Regions from separate parts of the Homo sapiens genome. Here all the other regions are linked to region 3. Evidence: promoter capture Hi-C in human tissues and cell types (Jung and others, 2019). All regions are on one chromosome and are shown on one strand. The core of a region is centred on a gene start or on the middle of the fragment in contact, and the rest is flanking DNA. Distances in the headings are between cores, read along the strand shown.

What was found. Contacts are between HindIII fragments. The study calls those that stand out against the background at their distance.
Region 1: a contact is called between a fragment that was not itself captured here and the fragment with the promoter of PFDN4 in region 3, in 1 of the 25 tissues and cell types used here (lymphoblastoid cells).
Region 2: a fragment that was not itself captured here is called in contact with the fragment with the promoter of PFDN4 in region 3 in 2 of the 25 tissues and cell types used here (heart left ventricle and thymus).
Region 4: a contact is called between a fragment that was not itself captured here and the fragment with the promoter of PFDN4 in region 3, in 1 of the 25 tissues and cell types used here (dorsolateral prefrontal cortex).

Annotation. Positions count from the first base shown.
Region 1 is chr20:53,410,052-53,412,986 of GRCh38, forward strand. The region is part of intron 2 of TSHZ2 (teashirt zinc finger homeobox 2); the gene reads left to right. Among named protein-coding and RNA genes, the nearest start is that of TSHZ2-AS1, 93 kb to the right of the region's middle. The HindIII fragment of the contact is 9,977 bases long and covers 1-2,935 here.
Region 2 is chr20:54,728,602-54,731,622 of GRCh38, forward strand. No RefSeq gene overlaps it. Among named protein-coding and RNA genes, the nearest start is that of DOK5, 250 kb to the left of the region's middle. The HindIII fragment of the contact is 5,560 bases long and covers 1-3,021 here.
Region 3 is chr20:54,206,772-54,209,623 of GRCh38, forward strand. PFDN4 (prefoldin subunit 4) reads left to right here and starts at 1,316. Exons shown (of 4, transcript NM_002623.4): 1 at 1,316-1,353. The coding sequence starts at 1,330. It overlaps LOC124904937 (a long non-coding RNA gene), which reads right to left and starts at 1,270. Exons shown (of 2, transcript XR_007067669.1): 1 at 1,186-1,270; 2 at 175-285. RefSeq lists enhancers at 713-1,530, 1,071-1,390, 1,531-2,347 and a silencer at 1,381-1,650. The HindIII fragment of the contact is 11,424 bases long and covers 1-2,852 here.
Region 4 is chr20:53,595,732-53,598,609 of GRCh38, forward strand. It overlaps a transcript of ZNF217 not described here. Among named protein-coding and RNA genes, the nearest start is that of ZNF217, 3.3 kb to the left of the region's middle. RefSeq lists enhancers at 929-978, 2,569-2,878. The HindIII fragment of the contact is 4,381 bases long and covers 1-2,878 here.

The DNA.
Region 1 (2,935 bases), core at 170-2,669, 800 kb before region 3:
GGCCAGGCTGGTCTTGAACTCCTGACCTCAGGTGATCCACCCACCTCGGCCTCCCAAAGTGCTAGGATTACAGGCGTAAGCCACCGTGCCTGGTTTTGTCTGCCATTTTTAATGTTCACTCTGAGAATCAGAGGGCGCATCCCAGGATGAAGGTGACTCTGGGACATGCTGACCGCAGCTACCCTCCCTGACTTACCACTTACATAGATCAGGCCATGGGCTCTCCCCTACTTTCACTCAGCCTTCAAACCACCAGCTCCACCAGCTTCCTCATCAAACTTGCTTTCTCCAGGCACATCCCTGAGCAGAATTCACTTAAAAGTTACTGATGTAAGAAAAAACAGAGCAAATCAAGGCACCTGTAAGTTATGCCAAGGCACCTGTAAGTTATGAAAAAGGTCTCAGTACGATAACAAAATCGGTGGAGGAGGAGGCATAGCATTTGAATTAAATCAACTTACAAAACACATAACTCTCTGGGCTTGGCATACATAACAACCTAAGAAGAAGTTTGGGAATTCTGTTATTATCGTCACATTATTATTATTATTATTATTATTATTATTATTATTATTAGCTGTGTTATATTTATGAAAATGTAAAATCCATGGTATTGATCATAAGCACCTTTTTTTTTTTTTTGGCACGGAGTCTCGCTCTGTCACCCAGGTTGGAGTGCAGTGGAACTATCTAGGCTCACTGCAGCCTCTGCCTCCCAAGTTCCAGTGATTCTCCTGCCTCAGCCTTTTGAGTAGCTGGGATTACAGGCATGCACCAGGACGCCTGGGTAACTTTTGTATTTTAGTAGAGATGGTGTTTCACCATTTTGGCCAGGCTGGTCTAGAACTTTTGACCTCATGTGATCCACCTGCCTTGGCCTCCCAAAATGCTGGGATAACAGGCATGAGCCACCATGCCCGGCCATTGGTACCATTTTTAAAGCACTTTAATATGAGCTGTAATTCAATGTTCCCTGGATCCTGCTCCTTCAAGTCAAATATTAGTGCAAATGCCACTTATGAAACACTTTCCTGTTCATAACTGTGAACCATGTTCAGCATTTTGGGGGTATCTTCTTCTATAAGACGGGAAGTGGGGCCTTCATGTCACAGAAGAGTGAGTGGAGGCTACGTTTGACCTGAAGTTTTTCTACAGCTAGGACCATGGCCTTGGCCTCCCTCAACCTTCCTGACATGATGTGGAGTCCCAGGGGCCTCCAGTCTCAACTCATCCCAGACTTGGCATGAACTTATGTAAAGGGAGAAAACTGTGAGCACTTCCCTAAAATCTAAGGGCAGCCTGCGGACTCTGGGTCTCCAAGTGAGCTCCATGTCTTGGCCTGGGGCAATTAGGAAACAGTGGTTAAGAGCAGAGCTTTAGAATCTGACAGACCTGGCCTCAAATCCCAACTCCTACTGTGAGCCCCTAGGACACTTAACATAAGCTCTCTGAACCTGTTTCCTCACCTTAAAAAAAGTAACTTAAGAGTACCTAAGGCTGAGGATGATGGCTCACATCTGTAATCCCAGCACTTCGAGAGGCTAAATTGGGAGGACTGCTCAAGGCCAGGAGTTTGAGACCAACCTGGGCAACATAGTGAGACCTCGTCTCTATAAAAAACTTAAAAATTGGACAGGTAGGTTGGCACGTGCATGTAATCCCAGCTGCATGGGAGGCTGAGGCAAGAGGATATCTTCAGCCTAGGAAGTCAAGGCTGCAGTGAGCTCTGTTCAAGCTACTGCACTTAAGCCAGGATGACAGAGCAAGACCCTGCCTCAAAAAATAAAATAAAATAAAAAAAAGAGTACCTATCTCATAGATGGAATTAAATTAGCCTATTCAAGCAAGAACATTTAACAAAGAGTCCCACACATAATGAGCATTAAATAAATGTTAAAACATGCATACATGTTGAATAGGCATGTTGCCTGAAGGGTGATCAAAGCATCATTTTCTTTCTTTCTTTCTTTCAATTCTGTTCAGAGGGAATAAACATTCCCCTCCCTTGAATAAGACTTCAGGCAACTCATGACTTTTCTGCTCACTCTTAGCAGGGACGAGCCCATGGTCCCATTAAGACTCAGTTCACAGATCCAATTCAGAGTCAGAAAAGTCAGGTTAACACGTCCGGTCCTGCTCTGGGCTGGAGGCACCCAGTGGGAAATTGGAGAAGGGCTCGATTCTTCTCTATGGCTGCTCCTCTGGTCTCCTCCCCAGCCTGCTGACAATAGCTTCAGGATAGTTAGAAAAGGGAATGGGACAAGAAAGGTCCCAGCCCTGGAGCAAGGCTACTGGTTCCCAGCCTGTGTGCTCCAGGAGAATGATCAAAGCTGACCCATTGTTGGTTTTGTTTTTATTGTGGTAAATTACACATAGGATAAAATTTACGCTTTTAACCATTTTTAAGTGTACAGTTCTGTGGCTTTAAGTGAATACAAACTGTTCCACAACCATCACCACCATCCATCTCCAGGGAAACAAGCTAACTCTTGATTTCTGGGCACTCACGGGTTCTGTGGACGGTTCCCTCTGGGCCGCCACTTATGAAGTTCCCTGCTCCGGGCAGAGGCCTCCGTCTCTCAGGGGGTGCACAGTGACTCTCCACGCTGCTTCCAAATGTCAAGGGTCCACCTTCAGCCCCTGACTAAGGGACAGCCTCATTAAACACGCCTCAGCACCACCACCCACAGGCTCTCTCCCCTGCAGGGCCTGTAACAATCACTCCCCACTCCTTCCCTAAACAAACTGTCAGAGGTCAGCTGATCCAAGCAAGCGGATTCCTCCTGAAACCCATGGGAGCAGCTAGAAGCCTTCTGTTTCTGGAAAGACCTCCGATCCCAGTCCTCAGGTTGGAGCTAGGGACCAGGGCTCTCTGGCTCCCTGGCAGGCCTCGACATCTTCTTAACCCACCCCCGGTATTCCTGTCCCAACAATA
Region 2 (3,021 bases), core at 321-2,820, 520 kb after region 3:
CTAGCATGCTGCCTTGCACATAGTAGGTGCTCAACAGATAAGTGCAGTGTTGAATTGAATATAATTCGAACTTAGATCTCCCAGTATACTGAAACTAAAACATTAAATTTAGACATACATGTATAATGAAACGTTAAAGGAGATATGTTTTAGCTAAGAAAGGTGTGTGCTATTTATTTATTTATTTATTTATTTAATGTTTTTAGAAATGAGGTCTCTCTCTCTATTGCTTCCCTGTCACCCAGGCTGGAGTGCAGTGGTGCAACTGTAGCTCACTGCAGCCTCAACAAGTGATCCTCCTGTCTGCGCGTCCTGAATAGCTGGGACTAAAGGTGTAAGCCACTGCACCCAGCAGGTGTGTTCTATTAAAAATATTGGTTTTGTAGGTTTCACAAGAGAATGATTTTACACTGGACACACAGAAAATAAATTACGTTGGCCTACGTTAAAAGGGGTCCAAAACCTAGATCAACATTTCCTTCTTTTGCCACATTCATGAAGCTAATATTCTTTAAATGCTTACTATGTGCTAGGCACTTTACTAATTACAATGCTAAATGCTTTTTATGCAACATCTCACTTGTTCCTCCCTAAAGCCTCGTTAGGTTGTTCCCTTTTACCGCACACATTCTCAGTTCCATGCCTGTATCTCTTGGATCTTTTGGCATATTCTAGCCTTCTCTGTGTGTGAGAGTTCTTCACCCATCCCTAACCTTCACAACCAACTACAGGAAGCCTTGCTGCCCACACGAGTGTTCAGCCAGCCAGATGTGGCTTGGATTTAATAGCCCTGGATAGCAGCCCTCACCCATTGACTTTCATGAGTTACAAATTTCCTGAGAATAGGGTGATTCTCATGCTTGAGTTTTGCAGTAGCACCATTTCTCCTTTAAGGGATTAAGCTTCCGTTGCCCATTGTGGTAGCAGAGTTAACATCACACTGTCTGCTGGCCGCCTTTCCTTCCCTCTACCACCTTTCCACTTCCTCCTGGTGCTCTCAACTCTTTCCATATAACCTGCACTCAAAGCTGTAGCTCAGGGTCTGCTTCTTGGAGCACATGAAGAAAAACATTACTATTATCCCATTTTTGCTGTTGAGGGCCTTCAAGCTCAGAGAAGTCAATGAAGTTGCACATAGTAACATGGCTAGAGAGTGGTGAAATCAGGAATCAATCTAAATTTGTCTGACTCCAAAGGCAAAATTAAGAATGAATGGGAAGTTAGTGGGAATTCTCTAGTGTCCACATAATTTAGATATGTTATATGTGGAGAAAGAGAGCTGATCTCTTGAATGAGTCTCATTTGTTTGCTACTTTAAATGAATTCTCCAGATACTTTTAAATTTTTTTTTTTGGTTACCTGAGGAGACATAGTCTAAATTACAAGAGGCTTAATTTTTTTTTTATCATTACTCATTAGAAAACACTAAATTAATACTGTAAGACTTCAGATTCATCAGATTAGAAGAAAGGGGTTCATAATGATAATCATAATTATAACAGTAATAACACTAGCAAATATGTGTTGAGTCTTCCTCCATGCCAACTCCTAAGCTTACGGCTTTACCTGGATTCTCTCATTTTATCCTTCTTGCAAGCCATTGGTAGTAACCCATTTAGAGATGAGATATCTGAGACCAGGCTAGGATAAGTGCTTTGCCTACGGTCTCACTTATTATAAGTGTCAGAACTGAAATTTAAATCCAGATGGTTTGGTTTTAGAAAATACCTTCTGTGAAGGTAATTTTCTTTCTGCTAATTTTCTTTCATTTTCATTGAATATTGGCCTCTACTAAGAGTCCAGTTAATTTATTAATTAAAACCTGACAGATTCTGAAATAGTGACTTTTGAAAACCATAGCAACATAAGACTATTTGGAAATAGAAGTCAAGTTCCTAAAGGATTTTTAAGTGCAAGCTTTTATTCTCCTTTCGTTTATAATTCTTTTTTTAGTCTTCCCAAACCTCACCCAAGAAGTACTTGTTCCCTGGACCTACATGTCCACACTTTTTTTTTCTCCTAAGCTATGAACTAGTTTCTCTGTGGGCAGTCTTTCTCTGAGGGCCTGAAAGAAGTAAATTTTTAGTGTGTGTTTGTTATATGTGTGTGTATACACAAGAAAGAGGAGGTATACACATGTATGTGTGTGTATATATGTATCATTTGTATATAAACAAATTTTATGTGTGTATATAATTTCTTGGAGAAAATGGAAAATTTAGAACTTTTAAGCCTTTGGATAGATTTGATAACTTGGGCTTTGTATTACGGTTCTTGCTATTTGTGATATCTATTTAAACAATGTCCGTATATAGAGAGAGTTCAAGTATTGGTTTTGGTATTCTCTGTTTATTCCTAGAATCTGTATACCTTCCATTATTAAATTTTGCATAGAATGTAAGCAGTGCTTCTCTTTCGGATAAATATTCCCATTTTTCATGTCCATTATTTGACTTAAAGTAACACCCTTGCTATTAATGTTTAGGAATAATTCTTCATATTTTAATTAAGTATTGTATATCAGACACTGTGCTTGATTATACATGTATTATAGTTATACCAACCAGTATTTATTGAGTGCTTGTTTTGTGTCAGGCATTGCTTTAGGTGTTGAAAATACAGAGGTGTATAAAACAGGGATGGTCTTTATCCTCGGAGAGCTTACTATTTTATTTAGCTTTCCACAATCTTTTAAAGTTTCTAAGATGATTCTCATTTGGTAAATTGAGAAACTGAAGATCAAAGGGGTTTAATTATTTTTTTAAATTTCTAAAACTGGCAAAATGGAGGAACCGGGTCTTTTTTTTTTTTTTTTTTTTTTTTGAGATGGAGTCTTGCGTCTTGCTCTGTTGCCCAGGATGGAGTGCAGTGGCACAATCTCAGCTCACTGCAACCTCCGCCTCCTGGGTTCAAGCAATTCTCTGCCTCAGCCTCCCAAGTAGCTGGAATTACAGGCACCCTCCACCACACCTGGCTAATTTTTTAATTTTTAGTAGAGATGGGGTTTCACCATCTTGGCCA
Region 3 (2,852 bases), core at 66-2,565:
GTAGACATGAGAATGTAACCTTCCATTAAGCCTGATATTAAAGAGATCAGTGAAAATGTAAAATGATGACAATCTTCTCAATTTATTTTTGTCTTAGAAAATATAGTTATTTTTAAAGTGTGATTTTTATTACCATGGAATGGAGTTTTATATTATTTTAAATGAATTAATAAATACATTTTAAAAATTCTGCTTTAATTTCTAATACAGCAAATATCGATAAATAACCCACATAAACAAAAGTTCTTTGGAGTCCTCAGTAATTTCCAGGAGTATAAAGAGGTCCTAAGGCAAAAAAAAAAAAAAAAATTACTAATTGGGAGACACAAGTGTCAGAATATACAGTAATTGTTCAGTAATATTGCTGTAAATTAATTAATAGGATTGCCTAGTCACAACAGCAAAGGCATGGAATCAACCCAGATGCCCATCAGTGGTGGATAGGATAAAGAAAATGTGGTCCATATACACCATGGAATACTATGCAGCCATAAAAAAGAACAAAATCATGTCCTTTGCAGCAACATGGATGCAGCTGGACATCATTATCCTAAGTGAATTAACACAGAAACAGAAAACCAACCACTCATGTTCCCACTTATGAGTGACAGCTAAACACTGGGTACTCGTGGACATAAAGGTGGGAACAATAAATGCTACGGATTCCAAAAACGGGGAAGGAGGCAGGGGAAAGGGGTTGAAAAATTACCTGTGGGGTACTATGTTCACTACTTGGGCAACGGGATCATTAGAAACCCAAACCTTAGCACCATGCAGTATATCCATGTAATAAACCGGCACACATACCCCCCGAATTTAAATTAAAAAAAAATTACATTAAAAGATAGGAGTACCTCCTTTACACCACCTGAATTATCATGGCACATAAATCTCACACCCTATTTGCCAAGGCCATTCGTTCCTAGCTGTTTTACAGGTAGGTTAGCTTTCTCAATGCAAGTCTGTGGGACGGATGGAGAAAAATTCCCCGAGCCCTTTGATCCTGCCCCAGCTGGGCCCCGCCGCGCTGAGCCTTGGGCGCGCCCCCTGCTGCCCGCGGCCGGAGCCGTTCGCCACACCCCCGTGTTTATGTCGGTCCACGGGGGTTGCCTGTCCCTTTAATTGGCATGTACCAAGTCCTTCCAGGTCACATTTCCTCCCTACGTCCCAGCCGTTTGGACTCACTGGCCAAAAGTCCAAGAGGACGGAATGTGGAGACAGTGTTGTATTTTTGCGGGGAGTTCTAGGCCGACCGGGAGCGAGAGAACGCTCGGGGGCGAAGCGCGCCATTGCGGCCCTCCCCGCCGCCTGCGGTAGTCCAGTCCCAAGATGGCGGCCACCATGAAGAAGGCGGTGAGTGGGGAGCTCGGGGCTCTGGATGCTCGGGCGGCGCCGGATCTCGGCCGCTGGGGCCCGGGCGCGGGATGCTGGGGGTGCGCAGCTCCGAAGCCCGGCGTGGGACCCGAGGCCGAGGCCGAGGCCCTGAGAGCGGTCCCGCGGCAAGGCCTGCTCGCGCCTGGCGCCCTGAGCGTTTTCCTAGGCACCTGGCCAGCCGAGGCGGGGCGCCGGGGCTGGGGCCGGGAGCCTCGAAGGACGCAGGTCCGCCTCCCGCGATGCCGAGGGTGCCCCCGGGGAGTCTGAGGAACCTGCAGCCCCGGCCTCGCCCCTGAGGTGTGGGAAGCCGAAGGTCCCGTTGAGTGTGGTTGGCCTTGACTCGGGCGTTGCACCGGCATGATCGCATTAGCCTCACTGGTTATGGGTAGCTGCTGCTGGGAGCGTGGTTACGGGTGAGGAAACTGAGGCCCAGAGATGGGGAGTCACCTGCCCGAGGTTACGCAGCTCATAACGGGGACAGCAGGTTCCTGCATCCCCAGATTAGCAGGCCCCAGAGACCCTGTGTCCAACCTGGAGCTGCCCATTTCCACGCTTGATGCCCCTGAGTCCTTCAGGCTAAAACCAGTATTTATTGAGAATGGAAGATGTGCCGGGCCCAGCAGCCGGCCGTTTATCTGTTATCCTCCCCGCAACTCAGCAAGTGCAATGGGTTCCTCTCCACTTTGCAGGTAGAGAAACTTAGACACAGAGCAGTTAGAGGCCCTAAAGTGACTCAGCTAGTAAGAAGCAGAGCTGGAGTTCAAACTCAGGTTTGTTTTTGTTTTTCTCAAAGCACGCCTGTGTAACCACTAAGCCGGCTAAACTTCCATGTGGGGTTTTTAATCCCGTGAGCCTTCCCAGATGTGTAAAGATAGTCAGATAGAAGAAAAAGAAAATTGGAGAGGGGGAAGGAGATAACGGCTGATAATTTGGGGAGCTTTACAGTGTGCTAGGTACAGCTGTAAGTTGTTTTGCGTGTATTGTTTATTTTATGTTCTTTGAGGGAGATACTGTTTTTATCCTTATTTAACAATGAGAAAACAGGCGCGGAGGCAAAGCTAGCATTTAAACACAGGCATTCTGACTCCGGAGTCTGTGTTTTAAACTGCTATAGGGGGTCTTTGATGAGAATCTCTTGGCTGGAGGGATTTGCGTTCATTCCACTTTTAAGACCACATTAGAACTTCTTTGCTTTGCCCCTATCCAGTACCACATAGTCTATGCCATCTGTGCCTGGTGTAGGGTGACCCATTGCCCCCTTTTATATGAAATTGAGGGACTGCCAAAAATGGGAAAGCCCCAGCCAACTCAGGATGTGTTGCTCACCCTACTATTCTGCCATCCAAAAATTCTTACTGTGTCCCAGAGTAGGGTCTAGGGCCATGGTGATTCAAAAAAGTATGAAACTTTGTGAGATTCACTTCACCTCTAGTTTGTTAAATTGGGCCCTCTGGTGTTAGGTATGGCCTTTAATTCCT
Region 4 (2,878 bases), core at 233-2,732, 610 kb before region 3:
AAGGATGAATACCTATCTTTAAAATATATTTTTTAAACTTATTGTCACATTCTAAAACACAGTCCAAAAACACTTCATAAACAAGAAACTTCATTTAACTTTATGAAAACAAATGACTATGAGCCTTGCTACACAACAAAGAAACTATGACCAAGTGGAACCAGGTTGAGCCTGAAGTGTAACCTCATTCTACATGTTAATGGATAACCTTTGAACTCCGAGACCTTGAATGCTGTAAACACAATAGCACTGATAGTTAAAAATTCTAGTGTCAAAATCGAGCAAAAAGAAAAGTCCAAACTTTTCAGGGGGAATAGGGAAACAATCAAATATTTTGACAAATAATCGTTTCAGTAAGAACAAGGAGATTCCTGGCTCTCAGACCTTGTTGCTACTGAATTATTTTCTGAGCAAAAACGGTTGTGCTTGTTTTCCCCCTGTGCCCTCCAAAGCTACCACTTTGTTCACATTATAGCATCATGATTTGTTACTGTTTCGCCGCCTCTCTCAAAAAAAAAAAAGAGAGCGCCTTATTATGTTGTAGCTTTTAAAACTGAAAGATGATTATAATTCACTGATCTGTCTGCTAAGAGTTTTATTTATATGTGATCCTCCTTATGTTTGAGCAAAGAATTACAAAGAACCTTGTCCTGGAGTCGTGCCAACGAAACTGGGAAATCGTTGCAAAATTCTGCCAGTGACTGACTGCTGGGTTGCAAATACATACTGTGTTTTCAGAAGGACATAGAGGGATCTGAATTCGCCTGGGAGGGCTTTTCCCTAAGACACATTCTTCCCTTAGAATGTGAGACTCATACTTCCCATTTATTTGGAAAGCATGTATAGTTCAAACAATTAAAATATGGAAACTCCAAAAGTAACAGGAGAACACTGGAAGCATTTGGTTTTGTAATAAAAGCTAGGAACTCATACTGCACAAAGTGAAAATTGAAAATCGAACGTTGGTCTTCCTATGCTTAGCTCCACCCACAAGAAATCCAGCTTCGCCATCACTCCCTGCGTAGGCCATCTCTAAAGGAGTCAGGTGCTACTAGATGCCAGCAAAAAAACAAAGAATGGAACCAAAAGAGAAGCTCTGCACATGGTACTTGGAGAAGGGGCAGAAAATCCCCACTTCACCTTCTTTCAATGCAGCAAACATCAGCTACACCTCATTTTTCACAATCATCCAAACAGGCCCTCCTTAAGACATATTTCCTAGTATGCGCTTATAAAATCACACCATTATCTCTAATTTAATCCTAGTGATATAAGGCCTCTTCGTTTAGCCAACATCTGATTTTCTATCCAGATCCTGCCAGTCACAGCATGCTCAGATCTAGTAACATAACAAAAAAAAAAAAAGAAAAAAAAAAAAAAAACTTCTGATTTGCTGTATTTAACACTTACTGGAATCCTCTTTTGAGACTCAGCCTTAATTAGAAGAACAGAATGAGGTAGGATCTTCTTATTTCACAAGACGTTATTTTACTGTGGAACTATTATAGAAAAACTATTTGGAAACTGTGTGTAAATCCCTGGAGCTGAAACAGAGCCAACATAGATACGGGACGTAAAAGAATTCAGTGTTCAGAGCAGGAAAACCTGAAAAACTGCAGTGAGGAGTTAGCAGGAAAAGAACATGAAAAAGTTAGGCAAACCTGCCAGCATCTGCAAACTACAAAGGACATTTGAGAAGGAAACAGGGACAGCCCTTTGAACAAGACTAAATGCACTCAAGTAAGTAGGAATAACAAACAGCTCGAAGGAGCACCACATTGCTCTTTTCTATTAAGTTTCTTGATCCCATGCAAGTCACTCTTCTGTAAAGTATCACAATAATATACTATTAAAAAAATATATTTATATATATGTATATATATATATAGCAGAACTTACCTTTCAGAAGAGAAGGCAGGGTCTGGAACCTGATAACTCTGTAGGACTTCACTCTACCTGGCTCCAAACAATACTGGAAGAGATGTGATTGCGGGTTTTTATAAGCACAGCAAAAAGGGAGGGGTCAAGAATAAGACTTAATTTAAATAAAGGTTTCAGTACCCTCCCAACTTGATTGGATTAGTCAATCTTGATAAGGTTGACAGCATTTTTTAACTGGATTTGTCCTATTCGATGAGTGCCCTCCCCCACTGCAAACACAACTCATGACTCCTCTAATATTCTGGATAGTTTTCTGAAATTACCTTCACTCAAAATGTTAATGTAAAAACTCCCTTAAAAATTGCACACAAAACACAACACTGGGAACGCCTCTTTAAAGTTTTCTGCCTTCATTAGATATTCCAAACAGGAAGTTTTGGAATGAGGGACGGAGGGGAAGAAGAGGGTGACTAACATTAATTGAAATTCAATCATCATTATAATCTCAAGCCAGAATCTTAAAATCTAATCAGGATATTTCATCTCCATCTACTCCACCCTACACAGACCTTGCATCCATCAGCAAACCTTCATATGTCTCAATTGTGTCCATTTATCTTTATCTCTAACAAAAGCCTACACCAGGTACCACTGGCAGGTGCCATGCACGTGAACGCGGAGTCTGCTGTTGGAAATGTGTTGGGAAGGGAGAGTTCCCGGTAAGAATTATGTATTTAGGAGCTTTCCAAATACTGATGGCATGTTGAGCCATCAGACTGGATAAAATCACACGAAAGAGGTGCTAGTATTGGGCCCTTGGGTGGTTCAGCGCCTGGAAGTCAAGGAGAAGAGAAAGAGAGCAAAGGGGACTGAGAGGGAGCAGGCAGTGAGGTCTGAGGGACCGCAGGAGAGCATGGGGACCCAAATGCAAGGGAAGAAAGGGTGTCAGCTCCATCACGTGTTCTCCTCCAGACAGAGACAGTACTGTATATGCAGG